2 separate regions of the Homo sapiens genome follow, and region 2 is linked to region 1. Evidence: promoter capture Hi-C in human tissues and cell types (Jung and others, 2019). All regions are on one chromosome and are shown on one strand. Each heading gives the region's core, a stretch centred on a gene start or on the middle of the fragment in contact. The rest is flanking DNA. Distances are from core to core; before and after follow the strand shown. Region 1 holds the start of SLC18B1 (solute carrier family 18 member B1). Region 2 has its middle 13 kb from the start of TCF21.

Region 1 (4,514 bases), core at 541-3,040:
TCTCCTTTACAACTTGCCCACTGGGGAATTTTTTTTTTTTTTTTTTTGAGATGGAGTCTCGCTCGGTTGCCCAGGCTGGAGTGCAATGGCATGATCTCTGCTCACTGCAACCTCCGAGTCCCAGGTTCAAGCGATTCTCCTGCCTCAGTCTCCTGAGTAGCTGGGTGCCATCATGCCCAGCTAATTTTTGTATTTTTGTAGAGACGGGGTTTCACCGTGTTGGTCAGGCAGGTCTCGAACTTCTGACCTCGTGACCCGCCCACCTCGGCCTCCCAAAGTGCTGGGATTACAGGCGTGAGCCACCGCGCCCGGCCCTCACTGGGGAGTTTTTACATAACCTTCAAGAACCAAGGTAACATCACTTCCTCAGGAAGTCATCCAGGACCCATTTGCCAAAGTAAATGGTTCTTCCAATATGTTTGTATACAACCGATTGCATTATAGTAGATTATTAATTAGTGTGAATTTCATCTGCTAGAAGGTGTGCTACTTGAGGGCAGAGTCTGGATGGGGCTCATTCCTCTTTAAATTCATAATGCCTGGCACAAAGTGGTAACTCAGTCTTTTGTTTTGCTTTGGCTTCAAAACAAGAATTTCCCAGTCCTTAAACTTTATTTATTTATTTGAGACAGAGTTTCGCTTTTTCACCCAGGCTGGAATGAGGTGGCACAGTAATTACAAACTTACTATCAGCCATACTGTGTACTGGAACTGACCTTGTACAGTGGATCTGAGGCAGATTCTCAGTCGATAAAGCTACCCTCACACAATTCTTTTGGATCTTGGCTCACTGTAACCTCCGCCTCCCAGGTTCAAACGATTCTCCTGCCTCAGCCTCCCTAGTAGCTGGGATTACAGGTGCCTGCCACCACGCCTGGCTGATTTTTTTGTATTTTTATAGTAGAGACAGGGTTTCACCATGTTGGCCGGGCTGGTCTAGAACTCCTGACCTCAGGTGAGCTGCCCACCTCGGCCTCCCAAACTGCTGGGATTACAGGCATGAGCCACCGTGTCCAGCCAGTCCTCGAGCTTTAACACTTCCCAAATAGTAAATACGGTGAAAATAAGTGAAACCTATTTTTTATGCAAGAAAACTGTGAGTGTGAGAGTAAGGTAGCAGCCATCATGTTCATGTGCTAACTACTAACACACTTTATCGCCAATGCTCACAGCCGCCCTACGAGATAAACATTATAATCTCAGTTGTACAGGTAGAGAAACTGACCTTGTCATCCAAAGTTACACACTGCCAGCAAGTGCCCTGGCTTGAATCCCTGGCACCTGCCTCCAGAGGTCGCACTCCTAGCCACTTCGCCATGCTTCCTCGATATTCATTAGTATTCTTGCAAATATTTTTCGACTCCAGGTGCTTCACATAGGTTAATTCATTTCCGGTTCAATAGTGTCTGGCTTCAGTAATTACGAACACTACCGCATTTACCCACTGTGAAAAATAATTCACTCTTTCAAAGTTCCTGTATAACCTAATTTTCTAATTCACTTTTGTGTCTTTCAGTTGAGGTACTCCCTGCCTTTTCTGTGTCTACATAAGCTTCCTTTCTTTCGTTTCGTAGGAATAAATTGAACTTATTTTAAGATTGAGGGGGGTACAGCTGTATGGAATATAGACTCATCTTTTTTCACTCTCTGTCACAGAATGAAAAAGGACACCATGATATAGCAGCTGAGGTGGTGGATTAAGATAATGAGGCGGGGGGGGGGCGCAAAACAAAAAAAAAAGGAGCCTTGCTCCACCCCTGCCCCGCCCCCGGCCTCCTCCCGGGGACCCAGAGTCCTGGAAGGCTTTGGGGAGCTCCGGGCCGGGCGGATCGCTGCCTGCAGGGAGTCGGGGATGCCAGGTTCCAGCTGAGCAGCGGCCGCCCGCCAGAGTGCCAGTGGCTCCTTGGAGGTCGAGTCCAAGGACGTGGCTTGAAGCCGGGAGCTGGGGCGCCGGAGTCCACGCACCGGGGATGGAGGCGCTGGGTGACCTGGAGGGACCACGCGCACCAGGAGGTGACCATGAATTGCGTGGCCGGGAGCCCGGAGACCAGCGGCGGCTTCCGGCGTGTCTCTTTAGCAACGATTGAATTGCTTATAGCTTGATCTGTTTCCGAGAGATTGGAAAAGGCTGGGGCCTGATCGTGGGGTTCGGGCCAGCGTTTCTTTTCTCTCTGGACGGGGTAAAGTTCCAGGATTGGATATGTGTCACGGTTTCTAATGACTTTCTAACCTATACCTCTGCTTTTTAAGTACTGTGTGTTTAATGCATTCAAATAAGTATGCCATTAGGCAAATGTAAAACGTTACCTTTCAAGTACCCATTGTTGTTGCCTTTCTTTTTAACTTTCATTTCCCTTTCTCATCTACTACAAACATTTTACAAAGATTCGTAAGACTTCCTCATGTTGCACTGATTTTTTTTTTCCTTCTGGACTGCAATGGCAACCTCTGACAAATAGAGCAAAGCAAATGTATTTCTCTTAAGTTTTTCCTAAAAACAATTTAATTTATAAATGGCTGATGGATTTGCTTGGATATTTGGAACTCAGTAATTGATTTCGTGTTTTTAAATGACAATTTAGCCCTGGAAATAAGTGTTAAATTAACTGATGTAAAAGACCAGTAATTAGGGTAAAAAAAAAGTATTTATTTATGAATTTGTGGGACTTGTCTATCCAGAAGCATACCGCTGTAAATATTAATTCACCAGCTGAATGATTTAGCTTGTTTTCTCCTACTTACACTTCATTTGACTTCAATACTGCCTTAGAAATCTTTGTTTTTTGTTTTTGTTTTTGTTTTTGTTTGTTTGTTTTGTTTTGCTTTTTTGAGACGGAGTCTCTCTCTGTAGCCCAGGCTGGAGTGCAGTGGTGCGATCTTGGCTCACTGCAAGCTCCGCCTCCCGGGTTCACGCCATTCTCCTGCCTCAGCCTCCCGAGTAGCTGGGATACAGGGGCCCGCCACCACGCCCGGCTAATTTTTTGTATTTTTAGTAGAGACGGGGTTTCACCGTGTTAGCCAGGATGGTCTCGATCTCCTGACCTCGTGATCCGCCTGCCTCGGCCTCCCAAAGTTCTGGGATTACAGGCGTGAGCCACCGTGCCCAGCCGAAAGCAGTACGTTTTCAAAACGGCAGTAATGTACAAGGATTGTGTTCCATTTGATCAAATGTGCTATATTCAAAATAGCCCTAAGCTTAGCAAATGATATCTTCAGAGTGCAACATATGTGCACAGAAATCACATTTGTGTACTTTAATCAGTAGTCTCAATTATATGCCTAATTGCTGCATGTTTGCATTCAAGGTGATGATCCTGCAGGAAGTGCAGGAGAGACCCCCGGGTGGCTTTCGAGAGAACAGGTTTTTGTACTGATATCGGCAGCTTCGGTGAACTTAGGTTCCATGATGTGCTATTCTATACTTGGACCGTTTTTCCCCAAAGAGGTAAGACATTTTTAAATCCTTAGGACCTCTGTTTTTTTGTTTGTTTGTTTTTTAAAAGCCTTTTGAATTATTTTATTTTATAGTATATAAAATGTAAAAATCTGCATATAGGACAGATGGTGTATAGAACTCCAGCCAATAGAATACTTCTTATAGAATGCCTGATACCAGGAAAAAAAATCCAGTCAAAAAGAACATCTTCTTGGGAGGTAATTCACCTAAAAGTAGTTGATCTTCTGAGAATTACTTTTCTTACCATGTAGTCTGATTAATCTTTATTTGGTTTCTGCAACTGAAACAAAGGAGTGCACTGAATAACTGAGATTCAAATGTTACTGCAATAGGTCTGTGTTAAGACAGTAACTATTTTCTCGAGGTTTTATTCACATTTTAGAATTAGGACGTTTTGATTCCCGACCCCCCTTCCTTTTTTTTTTTTTTTTTTTTTTCCTTTCGAGACAGGGTTTCGCTCTTGTTGCCCAGGCTGGAGTGCAATGTTGTGATCTTGGCTCACTGCAACCTCTGCCTCCCGGGTTCAATTGATTCTCCTGCCTCAGCCTCCCGAGTAGCTGGGATTACAGGCGCCTACCACCACGTCCGGGTAATTTTTTTTTTTTTTTTTTTTTTGAGATGGAGTCTCGCACTCTCGCCCAGGCTGGAGTGCAGTGGCGCGATCTCGGCTCACTGCAAGCTCCGCCTCCTGAGTTCACGCCATTCTCCTGCCTCAGCCTCCCAAGTAGCTGGGACTACAGGTACCCGCCACTACGCCCAGCTAATTTTTTTTTTTGTATTGTTTTAGTAGAGACGGGGTTTCACCGTGTTAGCCAGGATGGTCTCCATCTCCTGACCTCATGATCTGCCCGCCTCCGCCTCCCGAAGTGCTGGGATTACAGGCGTGAGTCACCGTGCCCGGCCGAATTTTTGTATTTTTAGTAGAGACAGGTTTTTGCCATGTTGGGCAGTCTGGCTTCGATCTCCTGACCTCAGGTGATCTGCTTACCTTGGCCTCCCAAAGTGCTGGGATAACAGGCGTGAGCCACCACGCCCAGCCCCGGCCCCGCTCCATATT
Region 2 (4,514 bases), core at 1,193-3,692, 1.1 Mb before region 1:
TGTTGCCTTTGTGTGTAAGCATTGTGCATGTACATAAAAATGTTAAAACTTCTTCAATAAATGAATAGATGTTCTTTTGTACATCTGCATTTGTGAAAGGTAAGATTTCTCAAGATCTCAGCTCTTAGGGTAACTGTATATGTGGTGGTGACCCATTGAGGTTTTCAATTGATCTTATCAGAAGGTTATGGTTGTTCATCATGGTATTTCAGATGGCCAGAGTTATAAAGTTGGGTACACTCAACTACCAACCATAGTGATATGCATTGATCCATTTCCTTTTCTGACCTACTTCCTTGTGAATACAATTTGTCTGCTCATAACTGTTTTGTCCATGTGACTGTCACTAGTATGCCTGAGTGCCTATGTTTGCAAAAATATATACATTATTATGGCTTATTTTATTATGTAAAGTGGCCTATGAAGCCTTCTGTTGCATTTTTATGCTTCTCAAGTAAATCCCCTTTTTAAAGTATAAATAAAAATCTTTTAAAAAATTAAATTTTTTTTTCAGAATTATATTTTTGAGATTCTGATCTTTTGGGATTCCAACATTCAGGTTTATAGCATTTGGGATTGTGTCTTTTGGGATTATGATCAGCTTCCATTAAAGGATTTGCTTGGGGTCAGAGCAGCTAGATGGCAGAGCATCCAAGCTCAAGTCTATCTATGAGCTTTTGAAAATACCACTTTTTGGTTGGTGTTATGGGTCACGCCAGTAATTCTAGCACTTTGGGAGGCCAAGGTGGGCTGATCGCTTGAGCTCAGGAGTTTGAGAACAGCCTGGGTAACATGGAGAAACGCTGTCTCTATAAATAATATTAAAAAATTAGCCAGGCAAGGTAGCACACAGTAGTCCTAGCCACTTGGGTGGCTGAGGTGTGAGGATCGCTTGAGCCCAGGACATAGAGGCTGTAGGGAGCCAAGATCGCGCCACTGCACTCCAGCCTGGGTGACAAAGTGAGACCCCGTCCCCCCCCCCCAAAAAAGGAAATATTACTTTTTAAAAAACTTATTCTAATACATTTGAATGTACCTGATATGAAATATTGAGAAGGATAGTGGAATTCAGTATCATATAATTTATGAGTTAATGTATAAGATTCAAAAGAGAAGAAAAAGCAAAAGACAGGTTCTAGAGACAAAAAGGTTTGGAAAATTGATGAACTGTTTGAGGGGATGGTCCCTAAGATGATGCAGAGGGCCTTGGGAGGTGGGGAATGAAAAATTAGCTCAGCTATCACTCTGATGGTCTATCATTCATAGTTTTTGAGTTGATTTTCCAGTAGTGGAGGTAAGTTTCTGTGAACACATCTATCATATTTAAAAATTTTTTCACTTAGGACCAAAAGTACATATTTACAAGATGGCTGCCCATATCCATGTAGCAGAATGATGGCCCACCGTATATAGCTCATCTCCAAATGGCCAGAGTCCAATTTCAGCCTTGGGAAAATAAAAACCTCCAGGACAACTACCTTAGATACAGGGAGGGATCTTTTGGAATCACTTCTTCAGATACTTGCCCACCATTGGTTAATTGGTTAGTCTGGGATAGAGGCAGGTGGGAGTGCTCCATTTTGGGCTAGCTACATGAATGGCAGGCTGAGGTGTCAGTAGCCTAGTGGTAGAGTACGGCAGGGGCAGCCAGCATGTCCTGGTAGCTGACCCTTGTGGAAACTGGCACAGCTGGCAGTTTTCAGAACACAAGATTGCCCTCCCCTGCCAGGTCCTTGCAGAAAAGTGATTGGGTCTTCTGAGGAATACTCAAGCTGGAAGTCAGGAACGTGTCCTCTAATTCAGCTATTTCCAATGTGTAGCACAGGGTCATGCATACGGTGGACACTCAATGATGATGCATATAGCCAGGCAGCCACAGATATAAGAGCAAGCCCCAGCAAGAACAGTAGAGTCCAGCTCAGAGTGAAATGAGTTACTATATATCATCATTCTAAGATGCATTTTCTCCCCAAATTTTCACTTTTTTTTTTTTTTTTTTTTTTGAGATGGAGTCTCTCTCTGCCACCTAGGCTGGAATGCAGTGGCACAATCTCAGCCCACTGCAGCCTCTGCCTCCTGAGTTCAAGTGATTCTGCTGCCTCAGCCTCTGGAGTAGCTGGGATTACAGTCACACACCACCACACCTGGCTAATTTTTGTATTTTTAGTAGAGATGGGGTTTTATCATGTTGGGCAGGCTGGACTCGAACTCCTGACTTCAAGTGATCCACCCGCCTTGGCCTCCCAGAGTACAGAGATTATAGATGTGAATTACCACGCCTGGCCCATTTTCACATTTCTAAAATCAGGATGCATCTTAACATTGGTCTCTTTGTTTCAACAATTTGTATTGTCGGAGCTATAATGGATTCAACTGCAGTTGAAGAATGTCTTTACAAAGATTATGCTCTGATTCCATATTGAAAAAATGTTATTTTATGCATAGAAAGTAATGGAAATAGAGAATCAATGTGTAGTAACAAAGGCATTTGCCATTGGAAGAATATCCATAATTCCATATTTTCTTACAAATTAACATCAAAGTGCTTTTTGGGGCATAAGAAAAAAAGTAAACAATAAGTAGATGATCCTGTGATATTTGGTTACTGAGATACATGCAAAGGATTGCCTAACACAGGCTGTATTAGTTTCCTGTGGCTGCCTTAATAAATTTCCACAAACTTGGTGCCTTCAGCTGACAATAATTTACTCTTCTCTTAGTTCTGGAGGCTGGAAGTTCAATGACAGTTTTGTTGGGTTGAAATCAAGGTGTAGGCGGAGCCATGTTCCCTTGGAGGCTTTAGGGGACAATCTCTTCCTTGCCTCTTCTGGTTTCTGGTGGCTGCTACTCTTCCTTTGTTTGTGGCTGCATCATTTAAATCTCTACTTCTGTCTTCACATCACCATTTTCTCTTCTGTGCATCAAATCCCCCTCTCCCTTTCTCTTATAAGGACACTTGTGATGGCATTTAGGGCCTACCCAAACAACCAAGGATAATCTCTCCATCTCAAAATCGTTAATCATATCTGCAAAGACCCTTCTTCCAATTAAGGTAATATTTACGGTTTCCAGGAATTAGAATCTGATTTCTTTGAGGCCACCATTTAGCCCACTACACAGGCCAAACAATGCAACTAGGGTTAGGGAAACCTCCAAATTTGTAAGAATAAGTAAAAGAAAGCTTGGTGTGACTAATTTATGTTGCTATTTTCATTATGCTCCCTGCCAAAAATATCAAGAAAGAGTCAATATTAAAACTATAGAATGGGTATCAGTTGCTTGGAAGAAAATTACAGAGATAACAGAGAACTCTTCTAAGAAATGTTCTTAATAAACCAGAAGATAAAATTGGGTGGTAAATCACTAGATATTGACCTTTCAAAGTGGAAAATTATTCAGAAGGGCCAAAGAATTTTTTTAAAAAAACTTTTGTGTGGTAGATTAATTATAAAAATAGTTCTAAATTTCCACACGTACACAGTCTACATGTTCTAAGCAAAGTGCATTTGTAGTTTCTCCCATTGAGAGGTAAAATTTATTTCCCTATCTCTTGAATCTGGGATGCCCTTGTGACTGGCTTTAGCCAATAGAACACAGCAGAAGTGGCACTATACCTGTTGTAAACCTAGGTCCAACAGGCCTTATGACTTTCTGTTCCCTCCCTAGTTGCTACAAGAACAAACTAGCCTATGGGATGATTAGAGATGCATGGTTTAGCTGGACCCAGTGGCTCACACCTGTAATCCCAGCACTTTGGGAGGCCAAGCTAGGTGAGTTGCTTGAGGTCGGGAGTTCGAGACCAGCCTGGGCAACATGGTGAAACCCTGTCTCTACTAAAAAAGAAAAAAAGCTGGGTGTGGTGGTATGCACCTGTAGTCCCAGCTACTTGGGAGGCTGAGGTGGGAGGATTGCTTGAGCACAGGAGGTGGAGGTTGCAGTGGGCCAAGATTGTGTCACTACACTCCAGCCTGGGTGACAGAGGCAGACCCTGTCTAAAAAAAAAAAAAAAAAAAATGCATGGTTTGGTTTTCCTCATACCCTAGCCAATAACTGGCCAGCCACCAGGCATGTGAGTGAGGCTGTTCTTGACCAGCTAGCTCCTAGCCAAATAGACAGCCAGCCAAAAATGTATGGGCAAGCCCCAGCAAGAACAGTAGAGCTCAGCTCAGATCAGCAGAGCCTCTTAACTAACTCAGATTCCTGAGTAACAACTAAAGCTTATTGCTTTTAAGCCACTGGGTTTCAGGATGGTTTCTTTTATGACAAAAACTGTTACATAATAAAAAGTCACAAGACTTTCATGACTGGGATTGACTAAATGATTCAGAATGAATTAGGCTCTGAATATAAAATAATTTTTGGAATATTTTAACTAGTTTATTTTGCTTATAATTTCCTTTTATGTATCCTTAATGGCAATATAGGATTAAAATAAAGTTATAAATAAGTCTAAAAGAGATCCTTAAGTAAGTATAAAATACAAATTCTAATTTTAAAAAGGCTTAATGTCATGC

The links. The method cuts DNA at HindIII sites, captures the fragments that hold promoters and counts their contacts. A contact is called where the count stands out against the background at its distance.
Region 2: a fragment that was not itself captured here is called in contact with the fragment with the promoter of SLC18B1 in region 1 in 1 of the 25 tissues and cell types used here (mesenchymal stem cells).

The regions. Positions count from the first base shown.
Region 1 is chr6:132,795,913-132,800,426 of GRCh38, reverse strand. It overlaps SLC18B1 (solute carrier family 18 member B1), which reads left to right and starts at 1,790. Exons shown (of 14, transcript NM_052831.3): 1 at 1,790-2,013; 2 at 3,306-3,445. The coding sequence starts at 1,971. RefSeq lists a silencer at 1,723-1,772 and an enhancer at 3,004-3,504. The HindIII fragment of the contact is 3,873 bases long and covers 127-3,999 here.
Region 2 is chr6:133,899,378-133,903,891 of GRCh38, reverse strand. No RefSeq gene overlaps it. Among named protein-coding and RNA genes, the nearest start is that of TCF21, 13 kb to the right of the region's middle. The HindIII fragment of the contact is 4,638 bases long and covers 124-4,514 here.